2 separate regions of the Homo sapiens genome follow, and region 1 is linked to region 2. The links are contacts of gene promoters, found by promoter capture Hi-C in human tissues and cell types (Jung and others, 2019). All regions are on one chromosome and are shown on one strand. Each heading gives the region's core, a stretch centred on a gene start or on the middle of the fragment in contact. The rest is flanking DNA. Distances are from core to core; before and after follow the strand shown. Region 1 overlaps BCAS1 (brain enriched myelin associated protein 1). Region 2 holds the start of TSHZ2 (teashirt zinc finger homeobox 2).

Region 1 (6,080 bases), core at 1-2,500, 1.1 Mb after region 2:
AATTGCTTGTATTAGTCCGTTCTCACACTGCTATGAAGAAATACCCGAGACTGGGTAATTTATAAAGAAAAGAGGTTGAATTGACTCATGGTTCCGCATGGCTGGGGAGACCGCAGGAAACTTACAATCGTGGCAGAAGACACCTCTCCACAGGACACCAGAAGAATGAGTGCGAGCTGGGGAAATGCCAGATGCTTATAAAACCATCAGATCTCGCGAGACTCACTCAGTATCACGAGAACAGCGTGGAGGAACCCGCCCCCATGATCCAATTACCTCCACCTGGTCCCATCCTTGACGTGGGGATTATGAGGATTACAATTCAAGGTAAGATTTTACGTAGAGACACAACCAAACTATATCATTGCTTATATTTATTTTGGGAAATAGAAAGGAGATTTTGGACTCATGTATTCAACAGAATTAAAGTTAAATGCAGTCATAATTTTCAGTTGCATTTCATTGCTAGGGGAAAATATTTATCATCATGAAAAGTGTATTCAGTGTAGATAGCATTTTTTTCTCTTTTAGTTAAAGTCACAGCTATTAGGATTTTAGAATGAGGGTAATTGAAATAATAATATTTTTTTCTGATTCTCAAACTAAATTAATTCCCCTATTAAAACCTTTTACACTACGGCCTTTTTTTTTTCATAGCATTTAGCAGGGCTTGTAATTATATACTTACTTGGGTATATATTCATGCTTTCACTGATTTAGCACATATGGTCATGTGTCACTTAAGGGCGAGAAAATGTTCTGAGAAATGCATCATTAGATGATTTCATGGTTGTATGAACATCATAGATAGTATAGCCTACTACACTCCTAGGCTGTATGGTATAACCTATCGTTCCTAGGCCACTAACTTGCACAGCACGCAACCACATTGAACACTCTGGGAAATTGTGACACACTGGGAAGTATTTGTGTACCTAAACATATCGAAACAGAAAAAGTCCAGTAAATACATAGTATTATAATGTCATGTGACCACTAAGTATATGTGGTCCATCATTGACTAAGGTATCATTATGCAGTGTATGACTGTGTCTATTGAGCACAGCTCTGCACCTGTTGCTGGGCTGGGCACTAGGGTTACAGCTGTAAATTAAACAGGCAAGGCCCTCTGACTTCATGGAGCTGAAGTATGGTGCACAGGGAGAGAGTTAACATAGGAACAATAAATCCACAAACGAGGTTGTTTCTGATAGTTCAAGGCAGCATGGCACAGTGGTTATGACCACAGACTCTAGAGCAAGACTGCCTGGGCATGAATCCTCTCTCTGCCCCTTGTAGCTGTGTGTCCTTGGGAGAGTTAATTAGCCTCTCTGTGCCTCATAAGACTGCTATAAGGACCCAATGAGTTAATGCTTGTGACGTGGTTAGAACAATGTCTAGCTCATGTTAAGCAAAACATATCTGCTTATTAAACAAAAATGCATAGGGTTCTAAGTTATGAATAAAAGTAATTTTTTTTTGAGACGGAGTCTCTCTCTGTTGCCCAGGATGGAGTGCAGTGGTGCAATCTCGGCTCACTGCAACCTCCGCCTTCTGGGTTTAAGCAATTCTCCTGCCTCAGCCTCCTGAGTAGCTGGGATAACAGGTGCGTGGCACAACACCAGACTATTTTTTTTTTTTTTTGTATTTTTAGTAGAGATGGGTTTTCACCATGTTGGCCAGACTGGTCTCGAGTGCCTGGCCTCATGTGATCCACCCGCCTTGGCCTCCCAAAGTGTTGGGATTACAGGCATGAGCCACTGCGCCTGGTCGAATAAAAGTAATTAATAACATTACGTGAGATGGGATCATATGGGAGATGGCAGGTTGTGGCACTGCTGGGTAGGATGGTTCTGAAATGACTGTTAATGTGGTTATTGTCCCATAGGTGAAGGGCAAAGTTGAATATTTAATTTATGTCTCCCTTCCACAAGAAATTGTAAGCACCCTGACGTCAAAGGCAGTGTCTACCTTCACCCAATTTTGTATCTCCTAATCTTAGCAGTGTGTTTGCATTTACTGGGAGCTTAATTATTGTTAGTCAATGGAGGGAATAACGATTGATAGCATCTCTCACATATGAGGCACAGACCTAGGTACATGACCACATCATCACCAAACCTCTGAAGAGCTTCGTTATAATAATGTATGATATATAATAATAATGATGATAATAGCAAATCATTACTTAGCATGTTCTCAATTCCAAGCTCTAATTTTGGAGTGCTTCACCTGTATTGTCTCATGTAGTCCTATAGCACTCCTGTGAGATAGAGGTATCATGATTTCATTCTTCATATGAGGTAGCCGAAACTCGAGGGGGTTAAATCATTTTCCAAAGGTCACCCAGTTAATGAGCAAGATTCAAACACAGTCTGGCTGTGCTCCTAACCACCGGAATGTTCTGCATATTACTAGCTTCCCTTAAAAAGGAGGAATGGAACCTCCAAGACCCACCAAGGGCAAACATCCAGTGAGGAATTGACTCCTAGTATATCTGATCCCTACACAAGGACTCTTGCAGCCACTCCAAAGGCCTGCTGTCTTGCCACCTAAAGTTCTTTTGCACATGTAATTCCAATGTAGCCCATCTCCAAAGACCTAGCTTCTGGCTTATCTGCTCTAGTGGCTCTCGGAATAAAAATTAGGACTTTTGATTTCTGGCTGAAAGGAGTCAATGAGTCACCAGGGATTCTTGTGGATCTCTCGCCATTGGTGTGAGTTTTTATTCCCTGGTAGTAGACGCATTGAGCAATTAGATATTGAGGAGGCCAAAAAAAGGGTCATGGATCTCACCATGTGTTCTCTTGCAGGAATTTAATACATAACCAAATCTGGGGATTTTGTATGTCTTCTGATCATACCACATAATAAAGCTGAGCACTGTTAAAACATGTAGGACACTTGTTGTTTTGTGCTATTTTCTATTTATAAAATCCGTGACTCACACACTTGCATCAGATCATCGCTTCTGTCTGTTAATGGGACATTATGAATAATATAATATTGAATCCTCAAGACCAGGGTTGGCAAAGAACAGCGGTGGCTGGATTCAGCTCACTGCCTGTTTTAGTAGGCCAGTGAGCTAAAAATGAGTTTTAAATTTATAAATGGTTGGAAAAAAATTAGAAGAATCATAGAATGTGACACATGAAAATTATATGAAAGTCAAATTTTGGCATCCATAAATAAAGTTTTGCTGGAAGATAGTCATGCCCTTTTATTTATATATTGTCTATGATGGCTTTCATGCTATAATGGCAGAACTGAGTAGTTGCAACAGACACCTATGGCCTGCAAAGCCTAAGATATTTACTATCTGGCTCTTTACAGAAAGTTTACCAGGATTTGAGCCTACTGTGTATAAAAACAATGACAACAACTCTAAAAAATCATAGAAATGATAGAGTAATAACAATAACAACATTTGGTGAGTGCTTACCATCTGTTGAGAAACTTCTAGGAGCTTTATTTGCAGTAAAACTAATTTGCTCTTTGCAGCAATTCAACAAGACAGAGGTATTATTATTTCAATTTTGCTGGTGTGGAAACTGAGGCACGCAGGTTAAATGTCTCAGTCAAGGATACGCGCAAACACATACGTTCATATATACACATGCAAGAATATATACACACAAAGTATCTCTATCTAAATTCAGCTTTTAACAAGTTTTAAAATTATTTTAACAGTAGGATTACAAGCTTTATTTTAAAGCTCTTACTATTTAATGTAAATTCAATCCTAACAAAGCTACTTTGAATCAACACTTGAGGTTATGAAAAACCTTGGTGCTGGAAGACGCATGGTGTACAGAAGTAGGAGAGAAGATTTTTCTTCCCACAGAGTTGGGGTTACATTATTCTGATCATTGCACACCCTAAGTAGCCTCTCGGCCACTTCAAGGTGAAGGGCCCTGAAAGAAGGAAAATCTAATGGCGTGTCTTTTTCAGTGATAACCTGGATTCAGATATTGTCACTCTCCACCAGCAGATATAATGCATGTGTCGTGAAATTGCTCCTGCCTGTCCATCAACCTTTTAAAGAACAGGATTCATCTGGGTGGGACAAAAGCAAAAGGTTACTGCCATCTATTGGCTGATGTCAATATTAGCAGAAATGAATTCAGCCTACAGGACTAGGTCCAAACAACTGGGAAGGCTGAAAGAAGCATTTTGATGTTTTGCAATGAAGCCTTCTGTTCACAGTTGGCAAGAAGATGGCAACTCCTTCAGTGCCCCAAAGGTCCTGGAACTCGTAATAATGATAACCATATATGACTTGTATGGAGAGCTTGCCGTATGCCAGCCCAGTGCTGAAGCTCTATGTAGACATCAGTGTAGCACATAGGATAGGAATGTGGGCTCTGGAGTTTGGAATCCCTGAGCATCACTGAGCCTCGCTGGGCCTCAGTTTCCTCATCTGTAAAAATGGGGATAATTATAGCCTCCATCTCAAGGGGCTGGTATGGAGTCAAACCAGTGAATATAAGCAAAGTGCCCTGAACAGGGCCTGGCACATAAAGAGGACTGCACAAGAGTTAGCATGAGTAGGACTCTCACGGGTATGATCCTTGCTCTTTGAAGCCAGTTTCTCCCACAGGTGCCCGGTAGTGAGACTCTACCGAGGAATCCAGCAACATTTCTGATTCCTGTGATCCTCTCACCGAAAAGTCAATTTGGGGCCCTGGAATTTGTATTTTTAGCAAATGCCCCAGTGATTCTCATGATCAGACACCTATAGAAAATAGTGTGATGGTGACCATCTTCAAGCTTTTTCCAGGAGTGAGGATGCTCTAGGACACAGGACTCTTATGTTAAAATTGGAAAACCCTGGGCAAACCAGAATGACTTGGGTGGAGACTTTTTTTTAAATCCCCGTTTAATAGATGGGAAAACTGAGGCTCAAGGCAGTTCAGACAGTAATTCTTGTCTGTAATAGTTTTCTCCCATTTCTCAAAAAGGAGAAAAATAAATCAGATAGAGTTTTTCATGATAAACGTACAATTGAAAGAGCTAACTTTCATTTTTGAAAAAGAAAAAGTTTGAATGGGGTGTTAAAATGCCCTTTCTTTCATGAACTGATTATATGAGTGTTTTGTCTTTATGACCTTATTTTACATTAAACATACGAAGCTATGGTGGGTGGAGGGGTGTTGTTTTTGAAATTAGACTTGTGTTTGAGGGTTTGGCACTTTGCCACTGGGGGTTGATTGTGGAGGTTCAGATGAGAAAGCCCCTTCACTTCCCCGCCTCCTGCCTGTGTTATGGGGGCCCATGCCCAGACTGGGCTGCATGTGAGAACCTCCCACAGAGTTCTGAGATCCCCATGCCCAGGCCCCTGCCAAACTGATGACAGCAGATTCTCTGGGGTGGGGCTGGGCATCGGGGTACTTTCAAGATCTCTAGGTGATTTCCATGGCTGAGAGCCCCTGTTTTGGATATTTCTGGGGTGAGTGAGTGAGTGTCTCCTGGGGTCAGAACTCTCCTGGCTGCTGCCTACCCTGACCTAGACAACCAAACCCACGGATTCTCAGACGGAGGAATAGCTCAGGCTTCGGAGTCCACAGACCACCATCACCCAGGCACCTGAATACACTCACAACCCTTCTAGGGGCACTGCTTTGCTGACGCACTGTTTCGTGAGCTTGCAAATCAAGAGAACTGTCCTGGGCCTCCAGCTTCCCTTCCCCCAGAACTGGCGGGCAGGGCAGGCTTTCCAGCTGGTTATTCAGAAGCAAGCCCAGATGCCCCACCGGAGGTGGGTGGAGGCTGCCCTCCGCAGTCTCGCTCTCCTGCATCTCTGGGGTTCCCCTCTCTCCTCTTGAGAACAAGAGATCTGGAGTGAGACAGGCATCCGTAAAATCCCACGATCGTGAGGCTTTGGGCAAAGCACTTGACCCTTCTGAAAGTATCTTTCTTGTGGAAAATGACAGTATTCATAATGGTGGCAATAATAAACACATTTAGAGTGTTTTCTCTGTGCTGAGCAGTTCTGATTTGCATATATTTGCCTCTCTTGGTCCTCCCAACAACTCTCTGAGTTAGGTACTTTTATTTTCCCAGTTGTCTTATGAGAAGCC
Region 2 (5,699 bases), core at 1,036-3,535:
TCATTAAAAAGTGGACAAATGACGTGAATAGACATTTCTCAAAAGGAGACAGACAAATGGCCAACAAACATAATGAAAAAATGCTGAACATCAATAATCACAGGGTAAATGCAAATTAAAACTGCAGTGAGATAGCACCTTACCCTAGCCAGAATGGCCATTATTAAAAAGTCAAAAAACAACAGATATTGGTGTGGATGTGGGGAAAAGGGAACTTTTATACCCACTGCTGGTGTGAATGTAAATTAGTACAATCTCTATGGAGAACAGTATGGAGATTTCTCAAGGAATTAAAAGTAGATCTACCATTTGATCCAGCAACCCCACTACTGGGTATCTACCCAAAGGAAAAAAAGTCATTATGTCAAAAAGACACCTGCAGGCGTATATTCATTGCAGCACAATTGCAAAGATATGAAATCAACATAAGTGCCCATCAACTGATTATTGTATAAAGAAAATGTGGTATATATATCTATATATGTGTATTTGTGTATATATATGTGTGTTTGTGTGTATATACACACATATATATACACCGTGGAATACTACTCAGCCATAGTAAAGAACAAAATAATGTCTTTCACAGCAACTTGGATAGAGCTGGAGGCCGTTATTCTAGGTGAAGTAACTCAGGATCAAAAACCAAATACCACACGTTCTTGGTTATAAGTGGGAGCTAATGCATGGGTATGCAAAGGCATATGGAAAGATATCATGGACATTGGCAACTCAGAAGCGAGGAGTATGGGAAGGGGGTGAGGACTGAAAAACTACCTATTGGGTACGATGTACACTACTCGGGTGACGGGTGCACTGAAATCCCAGACTTCACCACTATGCAATTCATCCATGTAACCGAAAACCACTTTTACCCCTAAAGCTATTGAAATAAAAAAAATAATAAAGCAAAAAAAAACACCTCTAGTCCCAGCCTGCATCAAATGCCCTCAGTTGCTTTGCCCTCTCACTGGAAGGAGCACTCCTTGAGGGCATGGTCTAGGTTCACCTTGTTCACAGACTTGCCCCCAACACCTCAAAAGGTGCCTGGCCGATAGCAGAACTCAATAATCACATGTTTGTTTCAATCTCTCTGTGCTCAAATGCCATATCCTACATTGAATCTAGAGCCACCCACCCCCTTTTAGACACTATTACAGCACTCAGCTTAACGTCTTCATGGAGCGAATCACTCAAAGTATCCTGTTTATTTGCTTGCTTACTTTTCATTCATTCAACAAATATTTTACTGGGCACTTATTATATGTCTTGTGCTTTGCCAGCACTTGGGGATATAAGAGAACAAAGAGGCAAAAATCCTTCCTTCCATTGGAGCTTACATTCAAGAGGGGAACTTGTACAATCAACAGAATAGAAAACTGTCTATAACCTGTGTGACACTCACTGATCAGCTCACTGGGGAATAACAAAATGGAGAAATGGGGCAGGGAGTGTGTGTGTGTGTGTGTGTGTGTATTTTAGGTGAGGTAGACCTTTGGGAAAAGGGGACATTTAAGCAAAGATTGGATAGCTGGGGGGCACTTGTCTGCACTCCCCCATTAGAATATAAATACCAACATGGCCACCACCTTCCCTTTCTCTGTGGCCTCTGTGTCTCCAGAATAGGCACATAGTAGATGCTCAATAAACATTCTTCAAAGGAAACAAAAAGAGGAGTATATGATTAGACCTTAAAGTAGACAGAAGGGAGATTTTTGTTTTTGTGACCACCCATTGATTAGCGAGAAAGTGGGAGGGACAGGGGCACTAAATTGAAGGGGTCGTGGGGAGCACATTTTGGTGGGGGCAGGTTAAGACTTACAGGATGGAGATCCTCACTGGATAAGGTCCCCTCCCCCTTCCCAGCCCCGAGCAAACCTAAGTTCTCCCTCTCCTAAGATTGTGCATGGTCCCTGCTGGTCAGCCAACCTGGCCCCCCTGAATCTCCCTCCACAGCCTCCCAGCTTCAGAGTTCAGCCATCATCACACTGCCTCCTTTTCTCCCGCACCCCTTCCCTCCTCACCTCCTTTCCTCCCGCCCCCGCCCCTTCCGCCTCCCGGAGGGGTGTCCCCGCGCCCGGTGGGCACGCCCTCGCCCCGGCGGAGAGGGCGCACAGAGGGGCCTGGGCCGGCGCGCCGGGGCCCCCGCCCCCAGCCCCTCTCCCCTGCGGGACGCTGTCCCTTTAATAGGCTCCCGCTGCCTGGCGCTCTGCGGCTGGGGAGTAAATTTCTCCCTGTCATCAGGTCGCGGGGAGAGGAGGAGGAGGAGGAGTTTGTTAATGTTCAGTTTGTTCAGCGGGATCGATGTTTGCTGGCATCGCCTCGCCCTGTCTTGTGTGTGTGTGCGAGGGTGTGTGTGTGTGTTTGTGTGTGTGTGCATATGTGGGGGGTGTGAGTGTGTGTGTGCGAGGAAGCGGGGGTGCGTGCGCGTGTGAGTGCGTGTGTGAGTGTCTGTGTGTGTGTCTGTGTGTGTGTGTGAGTGAGTGAATTCCAGATTTTCTGTCTTTCCAAAACCCGCTCCTGTCCTCTCGCATATCACTCACAGACGGGGATCTGACAGCAGCCACAAACCTACAGTGAGTGATCGCTCTCCCCCCGGCACGAATCCGCCATAGAGATCGGCGAGGAGGAGGAGGAGGAGGAGGAAGAAAAGAAGGAGGAGGTGGAGGAGGAGGTGGAGGAGGAGGAGGAGGAGGGAAAGAGGAGAAGGAAGAAGAAGAAAAAGAAGAAACCCACTACCTTCCCAGGATTGCCTTTTTTTTTTCCTTATCTTTACGCGCGAGTGTGCCTGTGGCGCGTGTGCGCCCCTCGTCCCTTCCATCCGAACCCGGGCTTGGATGTTTAATAAAGAAATCAAGTGTCTCAACAGTCACCAAAAAAAAAAAAAACCGCAAAAACAAAACCAAAAAAATTCCAAAAGCAAAAACAAAAAAGAGAGAGGAAAAAAAATTCAAAATAAACAAACAAACAAACAAGGCAGAACCAACCTCTACTTCAAAGCAGCCGGCACAAGCCACCCGTGTCTGCCACCCAGAGAGGGGGGTCTCTGGCCCGTGGTGGAGGAGTTGCAGGGGGGATCGTCAGGGGGACAGAGGCCGAGTGACGTCCTAGGAGCCACCGGGCAAGAGGCGGAGGAGACCCAGAGAGGCCAGAGAGACAGCGGGCCCCAGCGCGCGGCTCGGGGCTGGGGCGCCAGAAGTGGGACTGGAGCGAAGTAGAGGATGCCGAGGAGAAAACAGCAGGCACCCAAGCGGGCGGCAGGTAAGAGAAACGGCTCCGCTTCGGGGCTGCCCTGTGCGCCGAGCTCCTCGCCCGCCCTCCTTGCCCCTGGGTGCCCGGGGGCACCACCCACTTAAGCTTTCGGGGGAGTTTGCGCCGGGTGCCCTTCTAATAACCCCGTCCTCTCTCGCCTTCTCTGGTCTCCCAAATCCTCCCCTTCCAAGCTCCGGTTGGGTTGGGGTGAGCTATCCCACCAAGCCTTTCCTCCTTAAACTTTCTTTCCTCCACCCTCTACCCCACCCCTAACTTTCTTCCAGTCTGTTTCTTGCCTCTCGGGCCAAAGTCGGATTGAGGATTTGGGGTGCGGAGTAGGGAGACAGCCCCTCCACCCCTGCATCCCTCTGCGTGGTCAGTGCCAGTGGCTTTTGGCCTCCAGGGATAGCGTCTCCTCTCACTGGGGCTTGGGGCGCTGAAGTGTGAGGCATACCTAACACTCGGGCTGCAGGCAGGCTTTGGGGCCAGCAATAGGAGTTTAGCGTTGATCACCAAGGTGGACAAAATGCCCCCAGGAAATGGATGACTCTTTGCATATATTTTCTAAAAGGATCCATATTTGGAAATGTAATTAACAATTTCCCTATTCTTTAAAAAAACCAAAAAGGGTTGTAGGGGGGAAATTCCCCATAGAAATTTAAACAGCTCTGGATTTTCTTTGCCTAGAGAGTTGCAAACTTTGTGAAATGATTCGTACTGTAAAAACTATCCCATCTGAATCCTTACTGCCCCCTAAAAAAGATAAGAACAGGTTAATGGATCAGTACAATAGACCTTCTAAAGTTTTTTTTTCTTTTGGGTTGCTTAATTGCTTTTTTAATAGTATGCTGGGGTTTTGTTTCTCGGAAATGTAATATGAAAGTTCATTTTTCTTCTGCCAGACCCACCCACTGAAAAATCAGCTTTCCACTTGATTGCTAGTTTTGATTTGACATTTGATTGATCACCTGTCATCTCGCTGCCTTTGATCTATTCATTCTTGATATATATCAATAAATCACTCACCATGGTAACTCAGAGTGCCAGTGACGCAAACCTTGCCCTCTATATTCAGAGCCAGACATGCACAATTATTATCTTGTTTGGCTTTTAATGTGGGCGTTTTTATTTCTTTGTGTCCTTTAGTTGAATCAGGGCTTTCGCAAAAAGCTTAAGTTTAGTTGTTTTTTCCTCTCTCTCTGTCTTTACCCTCTTGATTTAGGCAACATTAGGTAAGACTGGTCTTCTGCAGACCCACCTCCACATTTCATTCTGTTCCAACTCTAGCAAAACATAGGGAGAAGTTTGGTGGAACACTTTCATAAACTTTGCAAAGTCACCCTTAGAACAAATCCAAAGTTAGTTAGGAATCTGAGGAGAGTGGGCATCCCTTGTCTGAATGTGTTGAACCACCAAGCTCATCCTCCTTCCTCGCCTGAGTGTTTCAAAATATCCACAATTATCATTCCTTCTGAGCACAGAATTGCTTCCCTATTTGTAAGTTGGTTCAAGTGGCATGCAGAAATATTGATAAAGCGTGGATTCATATATTTTCTGATCGTTTCCCTAAAAGCAAAATAATTAAAATATTTTTAGTGAGGTACGTATTTGGAACTTGCCTCATCAGTGAGGTTTTCTTTTTTCAACTCTAGTTACTTCTTTGGAAAACAATGTCTCTTTCCTACCGTTGTCTCTTTCTGCATTTAACTCACTGATTTCCTAAAACTTAGGCTGCTTTGCAATCTGACAGCGTGTGGATGTGTTCAATGGCCTTTGAGACCCAGGAACAGTGAGCCTGCTGCATCTAGTTCTGGCAACATAAGTTTAAGTGTAGCTACATTATTAGAGATAACGTCCTTATTGTTGTCCCGAAAGAGAACCCTGGGCTACGGTCCAGCAAGAAGTGATACTGCCCTGAAAATTACTCTTTTTTTTTTTCTGGTTGTTCCGGTAAAGACTATCAACAACTAGGCAGTAATTTAAATTACCAGAATGACTGGACATGTCTCCTTTAGTAAGCTCATTACAAAAAGTGCATTGCTCAGAATTGCTCGACTTTGATTATAATTATCCTACGATCGATAAGGATCCAGGTGTACGTAACATAACACTGTATCACATTATTTAAATCAGGTCCTTTTCATTAAGCTGTGTCTGTTGGTGCTGGCTAGTTTATTGGTGTGTGTGGGTGTGTGGGGGTGTGTGTGTGTGTGTGTTAGAAACTTGTAACTATAGTTTCAGTTTTCTGGCCTATTATATTCCTACTGTCTTTGTATGTTTGTTTTGTATGATTCTTATTATTTTCACCAGAAGCGGAAACCCTTTTTAAGCTGAAAAAGGATGATTCATTTCGTACACAGTGAGGGCCCTCTTACCTTATTTATTTGCTCACATATTAATAGAGGAGACAGTTTTTCATGCAGTGTTTCTTCTGTTCATCTAAGGTC

The links. Contacts are between HindIII fragments. The study calls those that stand out against the background at their distance.
Region 1: a contact is called between a fragment that was not itself captured here and the fragment with the promoter of TSHZ2 in region 2, in 1 of the 25 tissues and cell types used here (lymphoblastoid cells).

The regions. Positions count from the first base shown.
Region 1 is chr20:54,058,850-54,064,929 of GRCh38, forward strand. All of the region lies in intron 1 of BCAS1 (brain enriched myelin associated protein 1), which reads right to left. Among named protein-coding and RNA genes, the nearest start is that of MIR4756, 6.6 kb to the right of the region's middle. The HindIII fragment of the contact is 5,971 bases long and covers 1-4,236 here.
Region 2 is chr20:52,970,073-52,975,771 of GRCh38, forward strand. TSHZ2 (teashirt zinc finger homeobox 2) reads left to right here and starts at 2,286. Exons shown (of 3, transcript NM_173485.6): 1 at 2,286-3,261. The coding sequence starts at 3,222. The HindIII fragment of the contact is 6,451 bases long and covers 1-3,889 here.